Regions from separate parts of the Homo sapiens genome. Here regions 2, 3, 4, 5, 6 and 7 are each linked to region 1. The links are contacts of gene promoters, found by promoter capture Hi-C in blood cells and fetal thymus (Javierre and others, 2016). All regions are on one chromosome and are shown on one strand. The core of a region is centred on a gene start or on the middle of the fragment in contact, and the rest is flanking DNA. Distances in the headings are between cores, read along the strand shown.

Region 1 (3,005 bases), core at 91-2,590:
AGGCTCTGCTTATAGGGAAGAAATGGACGACAGAGGTGATGGAGTGGGGTGCGCCAATGAAGTATTTTGAATGAAACTAGCAGACACCTTTGTTCCTAAAGATTCCATCGTCACACCAGCTCTGGGATGTTTACTAGCTTCTTCACCCTGAGCTATTCTCAATCTCAGAGCCTTACTGCTCTCTCTCAATCATTCTCTCCTCCTCACCCCTTTCTTTCCAGGTTGCCAATAGGAGCTCCAAATATTTTCTGGCTATTTCATGTAGCCATCTAGTTTTCCTCAGCTCGGCTTCAGGCGCACTTTTGCAAATCAAAGCCATTCAGCAACTCAGAGGAACAAAAAGGGGCTTATTTGAAGGTAGCAGTGTCTATGACTGGCAACCGTCTGTGTGCTCCCTTACACATAGGGTCCTGTGTAAGAAGCCTACACACAATGCCTGGCACACTGCACTCCACACATGGTATGTACACTCCTTGGGCAATGCCTCCTAACGGCTTAGGACCATTCCCTGTCCTCCCGGGGCGTTTAGAATAAAACCCACACTCAGACCCTGCCTCACAAGACCCGACATGATTTGGGTCCTCACCACTCCTCTGCCCTCTTCTCACTTTCCAGCCATGGGATGACCCCTCTTTCTCTTTTCCTGCCTGAGACTCCCAGGAAACCTCTTCCCCTACCTTTTTCTACATAAATCCTACTCTCCCGCCGGCTCAGTTCAAAGCTTCTTCCTCAGAGGTTGCTCTGGCCACTGAAATTAAAAGAGGCCTCCTTCTGTTCATTTTACTAGTGGCATCGCCATGCAGTTTTCCGTGTATTACAGTCAGTTTCCTTGCGTGCGTGTTTGGCTTTTCACTTGTTTTCCCCTTGCACTGTAAACCTCTCAAGGGCAGGACACTCGCTGTCTTGAGGGGCGCTGTAATGCCAGGGCCAGGTCCCTGCTCGTCTGGCGCTCAGCCCGTGCTGCTCTACACGTGTTTGCTGAATGAATGGAGCAGTGAACCCTCAGAAATTCGCCTCCAGATGAGCGCCTTGGCCGTCTCGGCGTCTCCTGGCCTCAGAACATCACCCTTGGCTCTCCCTCAAGGGGGAGCTCCCAAAGCGAGAACGTGACCCTGTCCTGCACCCAGCCCTCCACTCCAGGGCCTCCGCCGGTACACATCTTCGGCCTCAGCCTAACGCACTCTAGCAGGCACAGACCGCCACGCCCCCACCCCTCCAGACGGAAGGACTGCAATCCCCACAAGGCACCGCGACTCAGCGCCACCCGATTGGTGAAGCCTCTGGCGTCGGCCAATAGGACGTGGCTTTGTTGGCGTGTGCCGCGGCCGCGCGAGTCCTGGAAAGCGTTGTTGGCCCGGTTGCTCTGGAGCCGGGTCTCGGGTCTGGTGGCTGCCGGCCCTGCGGCATCTCGCCATGGGGAGCACGGAGAGCAGCGAGGGCCGCAGGGTGTCCTTCGGAGTGGACGAGGAGGAGCGGGTCCGGGTGCTGCAGGGTGTCCGGGTGAGCGGCGCCGCCTGGGCCGGGGCGGGCGTGGAGGCCGCGGGCGCGGGGGGGAGGTGCGGGGCGGAGCGCAGGGCCGGGGCTCTTTCCACGCGTGAGGGGCGTGGGGCTTGGGAGACTCCGGGGGCTCAGGCCAGGAAGAGGCTGAGCCGAGACGCGAGCCCGAGGCTGGCAGCCTTGGAGCTTCGCGACATGGGCTTCAGGGAAGGAGGAGTGAAGAACTGTACAGGTGCGAGGCCCCTGGGACACGAGGGACGCCCTGGCCACGTCCTGGCTCCGGTCGGCTTAGTTTTTACGTTTCTTGAATTTGCGCCCGGCCTCCCAGCCCGTGGCCCCTCAGGTGCGCGCATCTCGTTCTGGGTACGCGGTGTCTCCCACCTGGGCTTTGCCTGGGGACTCAGCTCTTCCCCGCCGGCCTGTTCTCCACAGCACATCTGCGGGGCGCAGGAAGAACCATAGCTCAGATCTGATCCCCTTCCTTGCCTGAAACCCTCCAGTGGGTTCCTAGCGCGCTTGGATGATGCCTTCCCTGGTTCCAAAGCTGGCCGCTGCCCGTCGACCTCTGGGGACTGCATCCCTCTGGGACTGCATCTCGTGCCATTTCCCTCGCGTGGCACCCGCACCTCGTCCCCAGCCTCAGGACCGCCGTGTTTTCCTGGAGGGTGCCGCTGGCTCAGCTCAGGGTCTGTGCGCCGGCTGTTCTCTCTCCTTCAGCTCTCCTTAAATCCCGCTGTTTCTTGTAATTCTTGTTGTAATTCAGATATCACCAGAGAATCCTTCCCTGACCACCCAATCTGAAGTAACCTCCCACCCCGCGTCCAACATTTATTATTTTCATAGCACTCATCACAGTGATCGCTTCTGTTGATAATTGTTTACTTGTTTATTGCGTTTACTGCTAGAGTGTAAGCTTTTTGAGGCTAAGGTTCCTGTCTGATTGAAGACTGTCCCCAGAACCCAGAAGAATAAAAGCAGCTCTTATTGCAGTGTAGGGGCCATGCGTTGGACTAAACCCTTTATAAGTTAACTGATTTAATTTTCAACAGCCCTATTTAGCCCATTATTGTAGATTAAGGAGAAGTGAGGCACTGAGAGGTGAACGAACTGATCCAAGATCATGTAAATAGTAAGTGGGAGAGCTGGGATTGAAACAAGCCAATTCCAGGGCATGTTGCTGTGCTCGGCCTCTTCCTCCACCTGTGTCTACACCTGCAGGTGCTTTGTAAGTAACTGTGGAGAGATGAATGAACCCAGTAAAAGGGACTAGGATTAAATGAAACGCACAGAGCTGGGTGTAGATGAATTAGTTAATTAAGGAGGAATTAGGGAGGTGGCTTAGAAAGACAGACTTCAGGAGTTCTGGCAGGTGCTCATTAGCTGTGTGACCTTGGGTAAAAAACTCTTTTGAGCCTCAATGGCCACATTAAAAAAAAAATTGGGTGTGTATGTATCCTAGGTACTGCCTAGGATAAGATGATGTCTGTGAAAGTGTTAAGGAAACGCAC
Region 2 (2,796 bases), core at 163-2,662, 950 kb after region 1:
CCATGGGATTCTGCTGATGGGTGTGTCACCATCCACCATATTCCTGCCATATCCTAGGCTGCATTGAATCCATCAGCTATTTTAAGTGCGTCCTGAAGGTTTCCAATACTCCTTTCCTCTGAACTTCACCATCTCTATTAATGGCTTGGCTACTCCCGCAGCTTCTCCCTGTTGGCCATCTAGCTCACGCATCTGATTACTTCTCTTTCAGAGTCATCTCTTGAGTCTGCTCTTTTCTCATCATCTCCAGTGTCATCACCGCCATGCATCTCTCCCGAATCACTGCAGCAACTCCCTGACTCTTCTTTGCACTTTCATTCATCTACTCCTTCACCTAATCTTGTAAATTGCTGTCAGATTAATCTTCCAATAATGAAATATTATGCTTGTAAGTGATTTCATATATTGTATTTCCTAGGCACCCATCTGACTCCTATTCTGTTACCCAGTATTCCTATCAAGTAATCATCCAGCCCATTTCAGTTATGTTTTCATGCATTATATCTTAATTCTGGATAGATCTGGCTATTATAAAGTTCTTACTTACATTGAGGTAAAATATATTTATTCTTCTATATACTTGTTTTGTGGGTGTGATTTCCTCCTGAATCTTTCTGAAGATATTAACAAGAAACTTTTCTGAATTCTCTTTTGTTAACTAGACTAACTTTTCCTAGAGGTCAGTTGCTTTATGGTCCCACCCTTATGCTTCTTCATCAGGCTGGCTTTCTTAAAATGTCTTGTGAATCTTGGTTGTTCTTTCTTTCTTATTTATCTGTAGTGACTTCACTACAGAGTGTGTGCAGTAGGTGGAAGAGGGGGAGGATCTGCTACTCAAAAAGTCTAATTAACAGAAGTGGACTGGATAGAATATTCTAATTATTGATTTAAATACTATAGTGGGCTTTCAGTTGTCACTAGGATTGTTCAGCTTCTAAGTCATACTTTTTATTACAGGGAATCAATTTTTCTTTTTGAAATAATCGTTCTCAGAGCTCTCTCTGTGTGTTCTAATTTGAACCAATTGCTTTCCAGGCTTACTGCACAGTTTCCATCCTGAGATATATTTTCATTGCATTCCTCTCATGTTTCTTGATTTCCCATGTCTTTTTTTTTTTTTTTTTTTTTGGTTTCTTAAATAACTTACTTAAATCTCTTGGAATCTGTGGATAGTAACACTTTTAAATCTTTGCATGTATGAGAATGTCTTTATTTTGCAATCACACTTGAGTAGTCATTTATTTGGATATAACATTTCAGGTTCAAAATAAACATCCCTCAGATTTTTCAGTGCATTTTTAAATTCTTCCTCTAGGCTACTGATATTAATTAGAAGCTTCATGATAATTTGGTAATCTGTTTCTTGTTCCTTTACAGATAACCTGTTCTTTCTCTGAGAGCTGTTAAGATTTTCTCTTGCTCCTTATAATTCTAAAATCACATGAGAATGAGGCTAGGTGTAAGTCTTTTATCATTCACCTTGATGATACAAGCTTTCATTGCAAAGATTCATGTTGCCAGCTCTGAAACTTTTTTTCTTTGTTTCTCTCCATTATTCTCCATTTTGTTGGTTCTATCTTTCCAGAAATCATATTAGCTAGGTATTAGATCTCCTACATTGGTTGTCTGTATCTTTTAACTCTTATCTGTTGTCTTCTCACTTTTGCCCTAGAGGCTTTTCCTTGACTTTTTTTTTTCCCAGCCATTAAAAATTTGAATTTTCAATCCGTTGAATTTTTAAATATCAACTATTGACTTTCAATATCCAAGAAATTTTTCTTTTTTAAAGATTACTTGATTTTCTGAGTGGCGTCTTATTTTAGGGATGCAATATTTTGTAATCTTTCTGAGGATACTAATTAGACTTTTAAAAATTACCTTCTGTTCTCTGAATTTTCTGTGTTCTACATCCTTGCTCCCACAGTTGTGCCTCTTCCTAACTCTGGGTAAGAAAGCCTGCCTCCTCCCCTGCTATTTTTTCCTATGTTTATTTTGGCTGAGGGGTTATCTGTTCCTATAATCTCATCTGCTTTCCATGTTCCCAGAAATTTCTCTAAAATGTTTTTATCTTCATTTTGACAGTTAAAATTGTTTTTGTCATTTGATAAAAGTTTTGGAGGAGGAGGTAAATGAATACCTTTAGTTCGCTATCTTAAAGTGTTCCCACCACTCTCCTTTCTAAAGAGTATTTTAAAACTACAATATTTATTATTTTGAAACAAAATGGCAGCCAATAAAAGTTGCTTCCTAGATACAGCTTCTGATATTTTGAATGAATTTCCAAAAAACTTGTTGTATAACTTTCATGCATAGTTATTTGGAAGAGGCCTAGGGTTCATTGAAAAGCCAGAAAACAATCTGATCTCCAGGAAGTCTCCTAACTTCTCTGCTTCAAAATGTAATTCCCAAGAATGGCAGGGAGAATAAAAACCCCTCTCCCATTGCCAACAGTGACCCTGAACATTCTGGGAGGCCCTGGAAAACTCTGGGCTCAGCCCCTGGCCTCTCTCTGGCTCTCCCTACATCTTTTTCATTTCCTGTCAGGGCCTAAATTACAGAAAAAGAGCACAGTTGAGGAACAATGGTCATAATTGAGGGGTCTCACTTCCTCCAGTGATGAGAGGGCTCTCAGACCTCCTTCGGGGACTCCACCAAGAAGACTCTTATAACGACTCACTAGAAAAGGAGTAGGGGGACCCTTCCTAGTGGGTTGTTGTGGGATCTTCTTGGTGAAATCCCCAGATGAGGACAAGCAAGCACATTACAAACACAGTGGAGAATATATACCTCAAACTA
Region 3 (2,974 bases), core at 180-2,679, 830 kb after region 1:
CATGAGCTCACTTGTCTTTGAAGTTAAGAAAAAAAAGTTTCCATGAGCACAGCAAAGGGGCATAGAGTAGACCCTGGCCTAGATGACATGGAGGGTTTTGGAGGAAATTGGGAAGAAGAGTTTTAGAGGACAACTCATGAATGCGTAGAATTAGCATGGATTGGCTGTGGGTGTTTGTGGATCCAAGGACTGGCTTTCGTCTGGCCTGGACCCAGGCCTCTCCAAACCTCAGCCCAGCCCCATCCCAGCTGCCCTGCCTCCAGACCCTGCCCACCCTCTGAGATCCAAGGAACCTCTCATTATAGCTTGGCTTTCTGCTCTATGCACCCCAGGGTATCACCCAAGGTCATGTTTAGACTTTTCACAAGAATTGGACAATTAGAGCAGACAAACAGTATGAATAACAGCAGTGCACAGCTCAGAATCTTGAAGGAGGCTGGCGTAGAGGATGGTGTATGTGTGCAATTTCAAAGGGCTTTACCCACTGGAACTGCTGCAACCAGAAAGATGGAAGAAGTCAAGGTACTTTTTCTTATTTCCCCCCACCAAATACAGCTAAAAGTCATGGGTATTCTGTGTAGAATGAATACAAGGAGGCCCTAACATGTGCAGAGAAGCACAAGCTGGGAGCCTCAGGACCTGGCAACAGCATGGTGGTGAGTTCCATCTTTTTGCTTCGTGTTTGCCAAACTGGGTGCTAAAGAGTCAGCAACCTAGAAATACCAACAGGCTCAGAAAACAATCCCCCAAAAAAACCTGCTCCCTCTAGCCAGGCAAGGGGCATTCTGGAAAACTTTAGAAGATAACTGACCTACGCCATCAGACCACACAGGAAAAGACGAGGCCCCACACCACCCTGGCCAGCAGAGACTGAGGAGGGAGCCTAGACCTCCACCCTCACCCAGATGTACTGACTGAGATGCCACCCCTCCTTGGGAAGGTATTGGAGAAGCCCAGCTGGGGGCAAGGAAGTCCACCACAGCCGGGCCTCAAAGGAGGCTGCTGAGACAGAGGTTTAAATAAGGCCAGGAGCCCCACCACATAACCCCTAATATCCAGGCTTCAATCACAAATCACTCCACACCAGGATCCAGGAAAACACCGACCCTGATGAGAAGAGATGCAGAGACTAACCCAGGATGACACCAACAGCAGCATCATCTGAACAATTTGAAGCCACCATCACAAAAATGCTCAACGGCAAACACAACAGAATCAAGTGAGAAAATAGAAAATCTCTGCAGAGAAACAAGCCACAAAGAGGAACAAAATGGGAACTCAGGGTTGAAAACGCAACAGCCAAAATTAACTCAGTGGATGGCTCAACGCCAGAACAGAGAGGCTGGAGGGAAGAGTCAGTGAACCTAAAGATAAAATAATAGAAATTACTTAATTTGAACAACAAAGCAAAAAATAGACTTAGATAAAAATGAGCAGAATCTCGGGTATGTATATTTTGGCCTATATACATTTTGGTCTATATTTTGGTCTCTCTATTACAAAAGGCCTAGCATCCATGTCGTGAGAGACCCAGAAAGGAAGAAAGATGAGGGTGGAGCTGAAAAGATTTTCAAGGAAATAATGTTTAGAAATTTCCTAAATTTGGCAAAAGACATAAATTTACAGATTCAAGAACCTGAGCAAACCCCAAATGGCATCAATCAAAGCAAACCTATGCCAAGACACCTTCTATTGAGACTTCGGAAAACTGAAGACAAAGACAAAAATCTTGAAAGTGGCAAGAAAAAAACATCTTGGCCAGGCGCCATGGCTAACGCCTGTAATCCCAGCACTTCGGGAGGCCGAGGAGGGCAGATCACTTAAGGTCAGGCGTTCAAGACCAGCCTGGCCAACATGGCAAAACCCCGTCTCTATTAAAAATACAAAAATTAGCCAGGTGTGATGGCGCATGCCTATAATCCCAGCTACTAGGGAGGCTGAGGCAAGAGAATCATTTGAATCTGACAGGCAGAGGTTGCAGTGAGCCAAGATCGCACCACTGCACTCCAGCCTGGGAGACAGAGAGAGACTCTACCTCAAAAAAAAAAAAAAAAAACAGAAACAGGCTGGGTGCGGTGGCTCACGCCTGTAATCCCAACACTTTGGGAGGATGAGGCGGGCAGATCACGAGGTCAGGAGATCGAGACCATCCTGGCTAACACGGTGAAACCCCATCTCTACTAAAAATACAAAAAATTAGCCGGGCATGGTGCCACGCGCCTGTAGTCCCAGCTACTCGGGAGGCTGAAGCAGGAGAATCGCTTGAACCCAGGAAGCAGAAGTTGCAGTGAGCCGAGATTGTGCCACTGCACTCCAGCCTGGGCGACAGAGAGAGAGAAAAAAGAAACAGCATCTTACCTGTAAGGGAAAACCATTTTAATGACAGCAGATTTCTCACTGAAACCATGGAGACCAAAAGGAAGTGGCACAGCAATTTTCAAGAGCTGAAAGAAAAGAACTCTCAGCCCAGAATCTTACATCCAGTGAAAATATCCTTCAGAAATCAAGAGGAAATCAAGACATCTTCAGAAGAAAAAAAAAACAGAGACTTTGTCACCAGCAGACCTACCCAAAAGGAGTGATTAAAGGAAGTTTGCCAAACAAATAAAATGAGAAAAGAAGGAATCTCAAAGTGTAAGGAAGGAAGAACACAGTCAACAAAATATAGATAGAGACAATAGACCTCATCTCTTGAGTTTTCTAAATTATGCTTGACAATTGAAGCAAAAGTTATAACACTGAATGATGTGATTGCCAACGTATGTAGAGGAAATACTAAAAAGAATTGTTATACAGGGGGAGAGAACAGGGAAAGTGAAGGACTTAGGTTTCTCCTCTTCCCCCCCCCCCCCCCCCCACTGATAAAATGTCAACATCAGCTAACTGTGATAAGTTATATATGTATAATCTAATACCTGGAATGACCACTGAAAAATCTGCACAAAGAGATGCTGTCAAACGCACTATATACAAA
Region 4 (3,239 bases), core at 2-2,501, 870 kb after region 1:
ACAGCCAGAAACCCAGGAATCCAATCCCTACCTGGCCCTAAGGCCCCAGCCACCCCAGCTGCCCCAGCCTGAACCTCACCAGGAAGAAGAAGCAGGAGCTGACCAGCCAGAACTGGCGGCCCCCATGGCCATAGATATTAAAGTCCTCAGCTGAGAGATGGGCATCAGGGTACAGGATCTCCAGGGTCCCCTGCAGGGGCAAGCAGGAAGGGAGGAAGGGAGAGGATCTCAAGGCTTCTCTCTCCCAGGGGCTTTCCCTGATGCAAAGCCCCCTAAGCTCTCCACCACACCAAGTTCAGCCTCTTGGCCTGACCCTCAACTCACCTGCCCCAGTCTGCTCCCTGGCCATGTCCTGCCCAACTGATTGCAGCATCCAGAGCCGGCCCAGTCTTGGGCTGAGTCACATGGGGAAGGGGGCAGAGATGGACAAGGTGCAGTCCCTGCCCCCAATCTAAGAAAGGGGCCTCTAGATGCATGCTTCTCAGGGGGGTCTGCGGACCTGCACCATCCCTACCTGAACTCCTTATTAAAACGGCAAGTCCTGAGCCTCCCATCCTGGCGCCCTGGCCCACTGGATCCAAATCTCCAGGGGACCCCAGAATGTGCCTCGGTAACAAGCACCCCATGTGATTTCTCAGGTGCAAAGTTTTGAGAACTCTGAAGGTGATAAAGACTGGAAACCTGACCCAGACCCAGAAGCAGTGGGTGCCTGGTGCCCTGACTCCTAGCGTCCCCTGCCCACACTCACCCTCTTACCTGGGTGACAGAGTAGGCCAGGGACAGCACTGTGGTGATGGCCAGCACCCGCTTGATGCTGGACTTACTCTCCAGGTGGCCTGGAAGAAACATGCTGGTCAGCAGGCAGGAGCCAGCCCAGGTGACCACTCCAGAGTCAGCCCACAGCCAGGGAGGGGCAGGGGAGAGCATCGCCAGGGCCCAAGAGCCCAGCGGTACACACACCAAAGGCCAGGCCCAGGATGATCACACTCAGCTCGATGGCCAGCAGGAAGAAGCGGGTGATCTCCCACAGGATCTGCACGCAGAGTGGGCACAGCGTCAGCCTGGACCAGCATCCCCAGCCCACCCCAGGCCAGGCCTCCCTGGCCTCCCTCAGAGGGCCCAGCCGCACCTTATCAGCAACAGTTGCAGCGTTCGAGGTGCTCACCGTCATGGATACCACGGCCCGGGCAATGCCCACCAGCGCCACCACAAACACCTGGTGGGCAAGGGAGTGGTGTGGCAGTCAGGGAACAAGAGCCTCTGCATCGGCAGGGGCAGCAAGCCCACCCCCATATCTACAGGAGCCTTTGATTCCTGAGGTCGGAAAGGAGGAAGGCGCAAAGTCAGGGTGGGACACAGGGAGGTGGGGATCACTCCAGGAAGCAAGGCTCACAGAGTTGCAGACCCTCAACTGCAGGTGACTTCCAGCCTGGCCCTCCCTCTCGGGGCCCCAGCTTCCTGGCTAGCACCAACAGCCTTGGGCTGGTGAGCAGGAGTGCGCATGGTGGAGCCAGATGGGCCAGGTTCACATCACAAGCAGCACGCTGCTGCTTCCTGGCTCTGTACCTTAGCTTTCTCATCTATAAAATGGGGGCAGAAACAAAACCTACTGTGTTTGATTGTTGGGTCAAATGGATTAACAGATGCAGCAGAAGCCTGCCTGGCACCCAGGAAGGGCCAAGTATACATTTGCTGTTATTACCGTATTCATGGTTTTAATTCTGAGGCATGCGGGACCAGGCAAAAGGTCACCGAGAAGAGGTGCAGAGACCTCTAGGGAAGCCACCAGCCCAGCAGGTTTCACAAAGTGCCTGCTCAGCATCTGTGGTGCTTATCGGCCTGGTATATCCATCCCCTTCCTCTCCCTTCTCACCCCCACTTCGGTGGTTCCAGGTGAGGCTGAGTCCACCGCTCCTGGCTTCAGGGATGGGCCTGGGACGCAGCACTGGCCAGTGGTGTGTGCCATTCCCCTGGCCTCAGGGCTAGTTCAGGGAAGGGCATAGGCCCCAAGGGAGCCTTGTGAGAGAGACCCAGGATGTCAGGTGGGGCTGCTGGGAAAGGCAGACGGACAGCATGCAAGCCTGGCACCATGGACACCACCCTGCTGCCACAAGGGCAGATGGCGAGAGAGCAGGGCCATCGGGGAGATCCCAGGCTGAGTGGGAGATGGAGATGGTGCCCCAGCAGCACTGCTGTGCCCCCAAATCCTGCTGTGCCTGAGGCCCAGGAACTGCCCAGTTTCTCAGTCAAAAACTGGCTTCTGTGAGTCTCAGTTGGGTCTTCTGACACATGCCCAGATCCATATATACTCTGTCTTTTGTGCCATGAGAAATTGTGTCAGCAGGGCAGGCAGTAAAAGCAACAAACTACCACACGCCTACTGTATGCCAGGCTCCCACTGGGCTGCAGCTATGCAGACGACTTCATAGGTGCTCACATGAACACCATAGCTAAAGCAGATCAACATCTGTTATGCAGAAGGGCACTGGGGCACAGAGAGACCAAGCCACTGGCCCCAGGTCACACAGCAGCATGGCTGGGGTTCAGAGCTGGACTTCCTGAGTCCACTCTTAACACTGCCTCCTGAACTCTTTAGGACAAAGTCCCCAAAAGTTGATGGGCTGGGCCCTGTTATATGTTCCTGGACATTTAGCCCTGGCTCTTTCTCCCTGCCTGCACTCCCCCTTACCCCACAAAAGGACATCTGCCTAGCATACAGTAGGTGTTTAATATCTGTTGAATAAATACACAAATGAATAAATGGTGAGAGAAGCAGTGGGAGAGAAGCAAAGAAAGCAGGCCTCAGTTCCCAGTCCTGTCTACCACCATCTTGTAGGTGTGAGGGACATCAGGCCACTACAACCTCCAGGCTTCCCCAGCCCCTTGTCTGTCTCTCTGCCTGCCCACAGCCCACTCCTCTGACTGGGAAGTTCTGGGCTAGACCACAAGGAGGGGACCAGGGAGCCACTCAGCTCTCATGTGGTGGTATCTAAGGGCCACAGAGAAGGGAGGACTCCAGTCAGGCAGGCCCTGCAGACAGGGGAAGGGCGCCCTGAAGGAAGGCAGCTGGACAGCCCACACCCGAAGCCCACACCAGGACAGCCCGCACCGGAAGCCTACACCTGGAGAGCCCACACCCGAAGCCCACACCTGGACAGCCCACACCTGAAGCCCACACCTGGCACCTATACTGGGACAGCCCACACCTGGAGCCTATACCAGGAGAGCCCACATTTGGA
Region 5 (3,121 bases), core at 513-3,012, 850 kb after region 1:
CCTACCCAGATCTCCAGCTCCTCTCTGGAGCCACACCCTGCTCCCTGTGCCCCTGCCCCATCTGCTCATCTGCAGCCCACAGTTAAGAGGTCAGCAGACAGTGATGCTCATGTTTGCTTCATGCCTAGGATAACTGCAGTCTCAGAGAAGACCCCCAGAAACCCAAAATGCTTCCAGCCACAGAGGAGGAGAGCAGCTGGCAGCCAGAAGCATCCATTCCAAGTGAGAGACATCGAAGGGAACAAGGCTTAACCGCCTTGTCTTTGAACAGCACTAAATGATTCAGCAAAAGGGATGAGAGGAAACCTTTGGCCATGTCACGGGTTCACAGCCATCTGTATATGTTCCTATAGTCCTGCTTTGTACCTCCAGCCTAAATGATGGGGAGGTCGTTTGAAGATGAGACTGACCCTTCACTACATGTGCTGCTTCCAACCCCAGATTCCATCAGGCTGCACTTCTGAGATTCAGTGAACTCCCACTCATCCTTCAAAACCCTATCTCAATGTCGCTGCCATAGCAAAGCCTTCCCTGGCCCCCTCGGGTAGGGAGGGTCTCTCTGCCCACTGGCAGGCCAAGAAGGCCAAGCTCTGCCCTCTGAGAATCCATCAGTGTCCCAAGCTGACTTTCCCTAGCCTCGTATCCCTTCATTCCATGAAAGGGGAACTTAGGGTGGAGTGGAAATTTTGATCATCTAAAGGAACAATAATTGCTTTCATTCATTCATTTAAACAATATGTATTGAGCACCTACCAAGGACCAGGCCTTGTGCTAAGTGCCCCCACAGAGGTCACAATAGTCATATACTACAAACAAATACAGCATCACAAAGGTTGGCGCATGAAGAGACAGCAGCTAAGGGCATGGTCCTGGAGCCAGAATGCCTGGATTTGAATCACAGCTCTACTACTTCCCAGCAGCTTGTTGAGCTTAGCCAAGTCTCTAAGCCCCTCTGAGCCTCAGCTTTATCACCTGTAAAATAGGGATAAAAGCAGCATCTGCCCTATTCATCTGTTCACAGGAATACATGGCCTATGGAGGGAAAGTACCCAGGCTCCTGAGTGGGCCCTCCTGGCCCACGGCAGAAGCCGTGTGCATGTCTGTTCAACAGATACCTTTGGTGGCCTGTATGTACCAGGCGCTTCTATTCTCTGCTGGTCAAGGAAGGCTCACGGTGGAATAGGATTTAGCCCCGGGAGAGACAGCAGGGGCATTCTAAAGACATCGACTAGCTGGCATCCTGTGCCAGGCATCCCAACCTTTTGCGCATCGCGGCTCACCTGGAAAAGACGTGGGGGTGAGGAAGGAGGTGCCACCTGCATGAGGCATGGCAGAAAAGCATGACATCACCTTTATAGTGCAAAGCTTGACAGGAAGAATAAGATACAAAGTACTTAAAGAAGATAATCGATATTGGATGTGTATTAAATTTCCAAGGAAAATATTTTTAAATATGTAAATTAATCTTGAGTTGGCTTCTACAAGCATAACTTTTTTTTTTCTTTTTTTTTATTTTGATACAGAGTCTCGTTCTATCACCCAGGCTGGAGTGCAGTGGTGTGATCTCGGCTTACTGCAACCTCCGCCTCCCGGGTTCAAGTGATTCTCGTGCCTCAGCCTTTTGAATAACTGGGATTAAAGGCGCACAACACCATGCCTGGATAACCTTTGTATTTTTAGTAGAGGCGGAGTTTCACCATATTGGCCAGGCTGGTCTCAAACTTCCAACCTAACCGGGACCCACCCTGATCTGCCTGCCTTGGCCTCCCAAAGTGCTGGGATTACAGGTGTGAGCCACCGCAACCAGCCTTACAAGCATAAATTTTTTTATACCAATGTACCAGGTTTCATGCTTGAGCTGACTAAGCACAGTCCGGGATCAGGAATGTTTTTCAGGGGTCAGTCCTTTGGGTTCCTGACAGTCACCACTGATGAGAAGCGGCCGGGCAGGCAGTAGTGGATGAGGACCACCTGTGGCACTACAGAGAGCCCTCTGGTGGCAGGTGGGATGTCGACTGGGCACAGCTGCTGTGACTGAATCTGAAAGGTGACAGTGGTGCCAAAGTTACCTTCCAATAAAATTTCAACTGTTGCACGTTTTTGAATGGTTGTGAAAAAATGATTTTGTAACTATAAAAATGTATAACTACAAAGAATCTGTAAGCTTCAATGGCTGGCAGGTTAGGGTTGGAAACCTGGGAGTTTGAGGGCTCCAGGGCCTGGGGTGCTGGGGCGTAGATGGGGAGGGAGGGGAGGAGCACATGGGGGCCATGCCAGAGGGGAGCCGAGGGAGGGGGCTGAGCCACCGAATAGATCTGTGTGTTTCAAAGGTCTCTGTGACTGAGTGTGCAAATGGAATAGGATGGGGCAGAATAGAAATGACAGTGTTGGCCTAGAGGAGAGGGAATGGCAGCGTGGACCAGGCTGGTGGAGGTGGGAAGGAACAGGTAGATCGAAGCTACATTTTGGAAGTAAAATGCACAGGACTTGGTGACAGAATGGATATGGGGATGAGAGAGTAGGGGGTGTCAGGAGAATTTCCAAGGCCTGGCTCCTGGAACTGGGCAGGCAGGCATCCCCTTTGGAGTGGTAGCAGAGCCGCTTTCCTTACCCAGAAGCCGGCTGGAGTGGGGGTGAGGGGTGTCACAGGTCAACGCACCTCCCAGTTTTCTGGGGACAGTCCTGGTTTATACCTATCATCCCTGAATATGTACCTATTGCCCCTTCCACTCTCAAAAATGTCCCTGTTTTCCTCTGAATGATAAATAAAAATAAATGTAAATAAATTTTAAAATAAATGAATGCATGGGGAGAAGAGAATGCTCTTCCTAACAGTGGAAGCTAACTGGTAAATGTGGAAGGGGTGGAGTATGTGATCTGAAAGTCATTATTTGGCCGCCACTTGGGGAACAATTGTTTCAGGCAAGAATCAAAGGATACTAAAACTGGCAAGTAAGGGCCAGGCACAGTGGCTCATGCCTGTAATCCAAGCACTTTGAGAGGCCAAGGCGGGTGGATCACTTGAGGTCAGGAGTTCGAGACCAGCCTGGCCAACATGGTGAAACCCCATCTCTACTACAGTAGAAAAATTAGCCAGGCATGGTGGCACATGCCTGTAATT
Region 6 (2,839 bases), core at 15-2,514, 980 kb after region 1:
GGTTTGATACAGTGAAGTTCCAGGCAGAATTTGGTTGGCCATAAGTAGAGCATGAGGACGTGGAGAGAACGGGCTGTCCTTCAGGTCTGCACACCTTTGGGGGACCTTCTGCACAGAGGCCAGGTGCCACCCACCCAGGGCCTGAGTGGTTTGCAGGGTCCAGTGCAAAACAGCACGTGGGGACCTTGCTCAAAGAGCATTAAGAATTTCCAGAGAGCAACAGTAGAGCACTCACCCAAACGCACGGACCTTCTAGGGTGGGGTCTGGGCCTCTGCATGGGTGGCCAGGCTGCGAGGCCAACCCTGCTTCCACACCCAGTTCCCAGCTCAGTGCCTGGCTCAGATAAAGCCTTCCTGCCTCCTTCCTCCCTCTTTCCATCCCTCTCTCCCTCCCTTGGCCACTCATTCATTCCTTCATCACTCCCTCACTCAACCATTCTCTCGCTCACTCATTTCCTCATTTATTCATCCCCTCACTCATGGACTCATCCATTCTCTGATTCTTTCATCCCCTCACTCATTCCCTCATTCATTCTCTCTCACTCATTCTCTCATTTATTCATCCTCTCACTCATTCACTAACTCATCATTCTCTTATTTCCTCTCATTCATTCCCTCATCACACATTCCCACGCTCACTCATTCCCTCATTCATTCATCCCCTCATTCATTCATCCCCTCATTCATTCTCATTCATTCATTCTCTCAATTCTCACTTATTTATTCATCCCCTCACTCATTCACTCATCCATTCATTCTCTCACTCATTCCCTCATTTATTCATCGCCTCACTCATTCACTCATTCTTTCACTCATTTCCTCACTCATCCATTCTCTCACTCATTCACCCATTCATTCATTCTCTCACTCACTTCCTCACCCATCCATTCCCTCATCACACATTCCCTCACTCATTCCCTCATTTATTCATCCCCTCACTCATTCACCCATTTATTCTCTCATGTCTTCACTTGCTCATTCATTCCCTTACTCATCCATTATCTCATTCATCACTCATTTCCTCACCCACTCATTTCCTCAGTTCATCCCCTCATTCATTTTCATTCATTCACCCATTTCCTCACTCACTCATCCCTCATTCATTCACTTGTCTCTCATTCCCTCACTCATTCATTTTCTCTCATTCCCTCATTCTTGTTCCTTCATTCATTCATCCCCTTGTTCACTCATGCTCTCACTCATTCATTCCCTCATCCATTCTCACTCATTCCCTCATCACTCATTCCTTCATTCATTCTCTCATTTCCTCAGTCATTCCTTCATTTATTAATTCCCTCCCTCATTCATTCATTCATTTTCTCACTCCTTTCCTCATTCATTCCCTAACTTATCCATTCTGATTCCCTCACCACTCATTCCTTCATTCATTCATCCCCTCACTCATTCCCTCATTCACTCACTCATTCTCTCATTTATTCATCCCCCACTCATTCACTCATCCATTCATTCACCCACTCATTCCCTCATTCATTCATCCCTTCACTCATCCATTCATTCACTCATTTCCTCACTCATCCATTCTCTCACTCGTTCATTCATTCATTCTCTCACTCATTTCCTTACTCATCCATTCTCTCACTCACTCGTTCACTCATTCCTTCATTCTCTCACTCATTTCCTCATCCATCCATTCCCTCATCACACATTCCCTCACTCACCCATTCCCTCATTTATTCATCCCCTCACTCATTCACTTATTTATTCTATTTCTTCACTTATTCATTCCCTCACTCATTCATTCTCTCAGTCATTCATCAGTCATTTCCTCACCCACTCATTCCCTCAATTCATCCCCTCATTCGCTTTCATTCATTCACTCATTTCCTCACTCACTCATTCCCTCATTCATTCACTCATCACTCATTCCCTCATTCATCCATTCTCTCACTCATTCCCTCACTCATTCATTTTCTCACTCATTCCCTCACTCTTGTTCCTTCATTCATTCATCCCCTCATTCACTCATGATCTCACTCATTCATACCCACACTCATCCATTCTCACTCACTCCCTCATCACTCATTCCTTCATTCATCCCCACTCATTCTCACTCATTCCTTCATTCATTAATTCCTTCCCTCATTCATTTCCCTCATTCATTCACTCCTTTCGTCATTCATCCATTCTCATTCCCTCACCACTTATTCCTTCATTCATTCATCCCCATTCACTTACTCATTCTTCTCACTCACTCATTTCCTCAGTCATTCATTCACTAATTTCCTCATTCATTCCCTTGCTCATTCATTCACTCCCTCATTCCCTCACTCACTTATTCCCTCATTCATTCACTCACTTATTCATTCATTCCCTTGCTCATTCATTCACTCACTCATTTCCTCACTCATTCAATCCATCATGCATTCATTTTCTCACTCATTCATTCACTCACTTGCACAGTCCCTCACTCACTCATGTCAGTGCACTTTTTACATTTTTCTCCTTCAAAGAGAAACCAGAGAGATAATATGGGGCTATGGTAGGCGCTCTCTGTGGGGACCTGGGCTCAGCACCTGAGCCTTCACCTGCCCTGCATGGGATGGGGGTTTGGCTCCTCCTGAGAGAGAGGATAAAGAGAACACATCATTCCATCACTCACTCATTCATTCACTCACTCACCCACTCCTTCCCTCCCTGCCCTATCAGGCAGGCCTTTCCAGGGACCCTCTGGGAAGCAGGCAGAGGTGTAGTGCAGGGATATGCCCTTTTGCAGCTCACAAGGGAGGGGACAGAGTGCTACCAAGCAGACAAGCAGAAGATCTGTCATGTCAGATGTCAACAAGTGTGCTGGAGGAGGAGAAGGCAGGGCAGCACCTGG
Region 7 (2,891 bases), core at 108-2,607, 930 kb after region 1:
ACCTGAGGTCAGGAATTGGAGACTAGCCTGGCCAACATGGTTAAACTCTATCTCTACTAAAAATAAAAAAAAAATTAGCTGGGCGTGGTGGCAGGTGCCTGTAATCCCAGCTACTCGGGAGGCTGAGGCAGGAGAATCGCTTGAACCTGAGAGGCGGAGGTTGCAGTGAGCCAAGAACGCGCCATTGCACTCCAGCCTGGGCGACAAGAGTGAAACTGTCTGAAAAAATAAATAAAAATAAAAAATAAATAAAAAGACCTCTCTGAGCTTTGTCACTCAAAGTGTGGTCCACAGACCAGCAGCATCAGTCACACCTACTGTGTCAGAAGACTCGGGTGACTCACACACATTTCAGTCTGAGAAGCGCTGATTAGAGGGCAGTGTTCGGGACAGATGAGTGCAGGGGGAATTGCTAGGGGTTCGTAAAAGAGCTCTCTTTTTCTTCCAGCGGTGAAGCACTATGAGGACTGTAATTCTAATGGAGGCGTCTCTCATGTCTACACATCTATGTTTCTGTATCGTCTCTGCTGTTTTGCTTTATCGTGAAGTGTGGGGCATTTCGGCCATGTGCCCCCCTGAGTGGCATGGTTGTCTACCCTAGAGAAAGGGAAACTGAACACATGTTCCTGAGATCCCGGTGTTGTTATTTCCTCCAGCCTCCTTTCTCCTTCACAGTGTACTGAGCACAGTTAGTACAGTGCCATGAGCAGTTCTGTTAGTAGCTACCTTTGAGATCTCTCTCCCTGCCCTACTAACCCTGTGGCTCAAACAGAGTTATATGGTCACTGTTACACTATTCCATAATGATTTGTTTTCTTGCTGGTCTCTGTAGTAGAAACTGACCCTTTTGGGGCAGGGACCCTATCTTTCTTATTTCTGTACCAACATAGCCTTGGATCATGCCTAGTCCAAATAAGCATTTAATAAAGGCTTTTTGGTTGAAGAATGAATGAATGGATGGATGAATGAATGGAATTTAACCATTCAAACACTACTCTGATCCAAAAGGAGAACTTGATTTATAATTTGTCTTAATGTATCATTTGGCTATTTCTGTGTAATAAATCACCCCAAAATTTAGTGGTTTCAGATTCTCAGTTCTTAAGATCTGATCCCTGGACAGAAGCATCACCTGGGAACTTGCTAGAAATGCAAATTGTTGGGCCCCGTCACAGACCAGCTGGATTCAGAACTCTAGGGTGGGCTTAACAGTCTCTGTTTTAACAAGCCCTCATGGTGATTCCATGCTGGTTCAAGTTTGAAAGCACTGGATTAAAACGGTAGCCATTTATTTAGCTCATGATTCTGTAGTTTGGCAATTTAGGCTGCAGTCAGCTGGGTGGTTCTGGTCTCAGCTGAACTCCTTCAAGTTTGTCATCAGCTGTTTATCACCTTTGCTGGTCTTGTCTGGCTCTCTCACTTTGGGACTTCAGCTAGGACACTGAGCTGATCTGGCTCTCTTCTGCATGGGCTCCTGTTTTCCTGCAGGCTAGCCTTGAGCAGAATCCTGAGAGAATGGAAGCGTGCAAGGTATCTTGATGCCTAGCCTTGGAAATGGCACATCATCACTTCTGCATTGTCTTGTGTAGCAACTCACAAAGGTAGCTCAGATTCAAGGAGTGGAGAATTAGATTTCATCTCTTGATGGGAGGAGCTACAAAGTCTCATTGCAAAGATGTGTGTTATTAATTGGGAGTCATTGGATAACCCCTCTCAGGAAGAACCTTAAGAAGGTACTGTTTTGGGGTAGGACAGGGCACTCTGTTTCTTTCCCATCTACCTAGTAGGGGATAGATACTGCTTTCTTCTATAATATTCGGGCTAGGAAAAAATCCAAGAGTAGCTTAGGGTCCCCCCGTGATGTGAAGGGGAATTAGAGTGGAAGAGGTCATGGGAAAGTCTTGAGCTAGAGAGAGTACAAGTCCTTAATTCATCCTCTCCCAGGAACAAAGGGGAACTTCAAGGGGAGTGGACCCCAAATTGATTGTCTTGGCTTTCTCTGCCTTTTAAATACCTTTGGCTCAAAGAAACCACAAAATATGAGATGGCTGTTTCTCTCTTTGAGTCAGGGATTCAGACACAGGCTCTGGGAACATGACTTCAGCTTCGTGGAGCCAGGCCCTGCCTGGAAGCAGAATCTTTGTCCGTGGACATGGTGCCTAGGACAGCAGAAGACATTCCGGATGGGGTGTGATAGCTTCCTGGTTTGGACTTGGCAGAAGGCAATCCCCTGTGAGCAGTCCTCAGGAGCACTGGCAACACAGCAGTGCCATTGGCTCCCACCTGCCCAGGGTCACAGCTTGCCCACCCTTTAGGTATTTTTTTATTTTTATTTTTTTGAGACAGAGTCTCACTCTGTCGCCCAGGCTGGAGTGCAATGGCACCATCTTGGTTCACTGCAATCTCTGCCTCCCGGGTTCAAGCAATTCTCCTGCCTTAGCCTACCAAGTAGCTGGAGACTACATGCGTGTGCCACCATGCCCAGCTAGTTTTTGTGTTTTAGGAGAGACTAGTTTTGCCACATTGGCCAGGCCTGTCTCGACCTCTTGACCTCAAGTGATCCGCCCGCCTCGGCCTCCCAAAGTGCTGGGATTTACAGGTGTGAGCCACCACACCCAGCCCCATCCTCTAGTTATGATGATACTTTCTAAAGCTGAGAGTTGGGCCTGTGAATTATCTTATTGAGAGACAGAGCTTCACGGGATCTTAGAGGTTGGCACAGACGTTTACTAGCCCTGGTCAGATGCTAAGGCTCTGATGCCTCCTTAGCCCCGGCGTTGGCTTTGAGGCCATGTAGAATCACTCTGATATTCTTATTCACATCAACCTTTTGTTTTAATGTATTTGAAGATACCATGGTCTCTTTTAAATATTTTTTTCCCCGGGCCATG

Evidence for each region. Contacts are between HindIII fragments. The CHiCAGO score rates a contact against its expected background, and 5 or more counts as called.
Region 2: a contact is called between a fragment that was not itself captured here and the fragment with the promoter of CHCHD6 in region 1, in 5 of 17 cell types (total B cells, naive CD8 T cells, naive CD4 T cells and 2 more). The highest score is 7.1, in total B cells.
Region 3: a contact is called between a fragment that was not itself captured here and the fragment with the promoter of CHCHD6 in region 1, in 7 of 17 cell types (endothelial precursors, M0 macrophages, M1 macrophages and 4 more). The highest score is 8.2, in endothelial precursors.
Region 4: a fragment that was not itself captured here is called in contact with the fragment with the promoter of CHCHD6 in region 1 in 11 of 17 cell types (total CD8 T cells, non-activated CD4 T cells, naive CD4 T cells and 8 more); the score reaches 14.1 in total CD8 T cells.
Region 5: a fragment that was not itself captured here is called in contact with the fragment with the promoter of CHCHD6 in region 1 in 16 of 17 cell types (naive CD4 T cells, total CD8 T cells, naive CD8 T cells and 13 more); the score reaches 16.7 in naive CD4 T cells.
Region 6: a contact is called between a fragment that was not itself captured here and the fragment with the promoter of CHCHD6 in region 1, in 2 of 17 cell types (naive CD4 T cells and non-activated CD4 T cells). The highest score is 7.4, in naive CD4 T cells.
Region 7: a fragment that was not itself captured here is called in contact with the fragment with the promoter of CHCHD6 in region 1 in 2 of 17 cell types (non-activated CD4 T cells and naive CD8 T cells); the score reaches 5.6 in non-activated CD4 T cells.

The regions. Positions count from the first base shown.
Region 1 is chr3:126,702,900-126,705,904 of GRCh38, forward strand. It overlaps CHCHD6 (coiled-coil-helix-coiled-coil-helix domain containing 6), which reads left to right and starts at 1,341. Exons shown (of 8, transcript NM_032343.3): 1 at 1,341-1,500. The coding sequence starts at 1,414. RefSeq lists enhancers at 921-980, 2,041-2,592 and a silencer at 1,531-1,730. The HindIII fragment of the contact is 1,689 bases long and covers 720-2,408 here.
Region 2 is chr3:127,657,300-127,660,095 of GRCh38, forward strand. The region is part of intron 2 of PODXL2 (podocalyxin like 2); the gene reads left to right. Among named protein-coding and RNA genes, the nearest start is that of ABTB1, 14 kb to the right of the region's middle. The HindIII fragment of the contact is 157 bases long and covers 1,335-1,491 here.
Region 3 is chr3:127,528,695-127,531,668 of GRCh38, forward strand. All of the region lies in intron 5 of LINC01471 (long intergenic non-protein coding RNA 1471), which reads right to left. Among named protein-coding and RNA genes, the nearest start is that of LINC02034, 7.2 kb to the right of the region's middle. The HindIII fragment of the contact is 5,147 bases long and covers 1-2,974 here.
Region 4 is chr3:127,575,861-127,579,099 of GRCh38, forward strand. It overlaps TPRA1 (transmembrane protein adipocyte associated 1), which reads right to left. Exons shown (of 11, transcript NM_001136053.4): 4 at 1,130-1,216; 5 at 961-1,033; 6 at 757-836; 7 at 80-190. Among named protein-coding and RNA genes, the nearest start is that of MIR6825, 2.1 kb to the left of the region's middle. RefSeq lists an enhancer at 1-175. The HindIII fragment of the contact is 5,084 bases long and covers 1-3,239 here.
Region 5 is chr3:127,554,773-127,557,893 of GRCh38, forward strand. LINC02034 (long intergenic non-protein coding RNA 2034) reads left to right here. Exons shown (of 7, transcript XR_007096067.1): 7 at 129-2,105. Among named protein-coding and RNA genes, the nearest start is that of LINC01471, 19 kb to the left of the region's middle. The HindIII fragment of the contact is 799 bases long and covers 1,364-2,162 here.
Region 6 is chr3:127,685,422-127,688,260 of GRCh38, forward strand. No RefSeq gene overlaps it. Among named protein-coding and RNA genes, the nearest start is that of ABTB1, 14 kb to the left of the region's middle. RefSeq lists an enhancer at 182-311. The HindIII fragment of the contact is 5,603 bases long and covers 1-2,839 here.
Region 7 is chr3:127,634,503-127,637,393 of GRCh38, forward strand. The region is part of intron 1 of PODXL2 (podocalyxin like 2); the gene reads left to right. Among named protein-coding and RNA genes, the nearest start is that of PODXL2, 6.8 kb to the left of the region's middle. The HindIII fragment of the contact is 4,056 bases long and covers 1-2,891 here.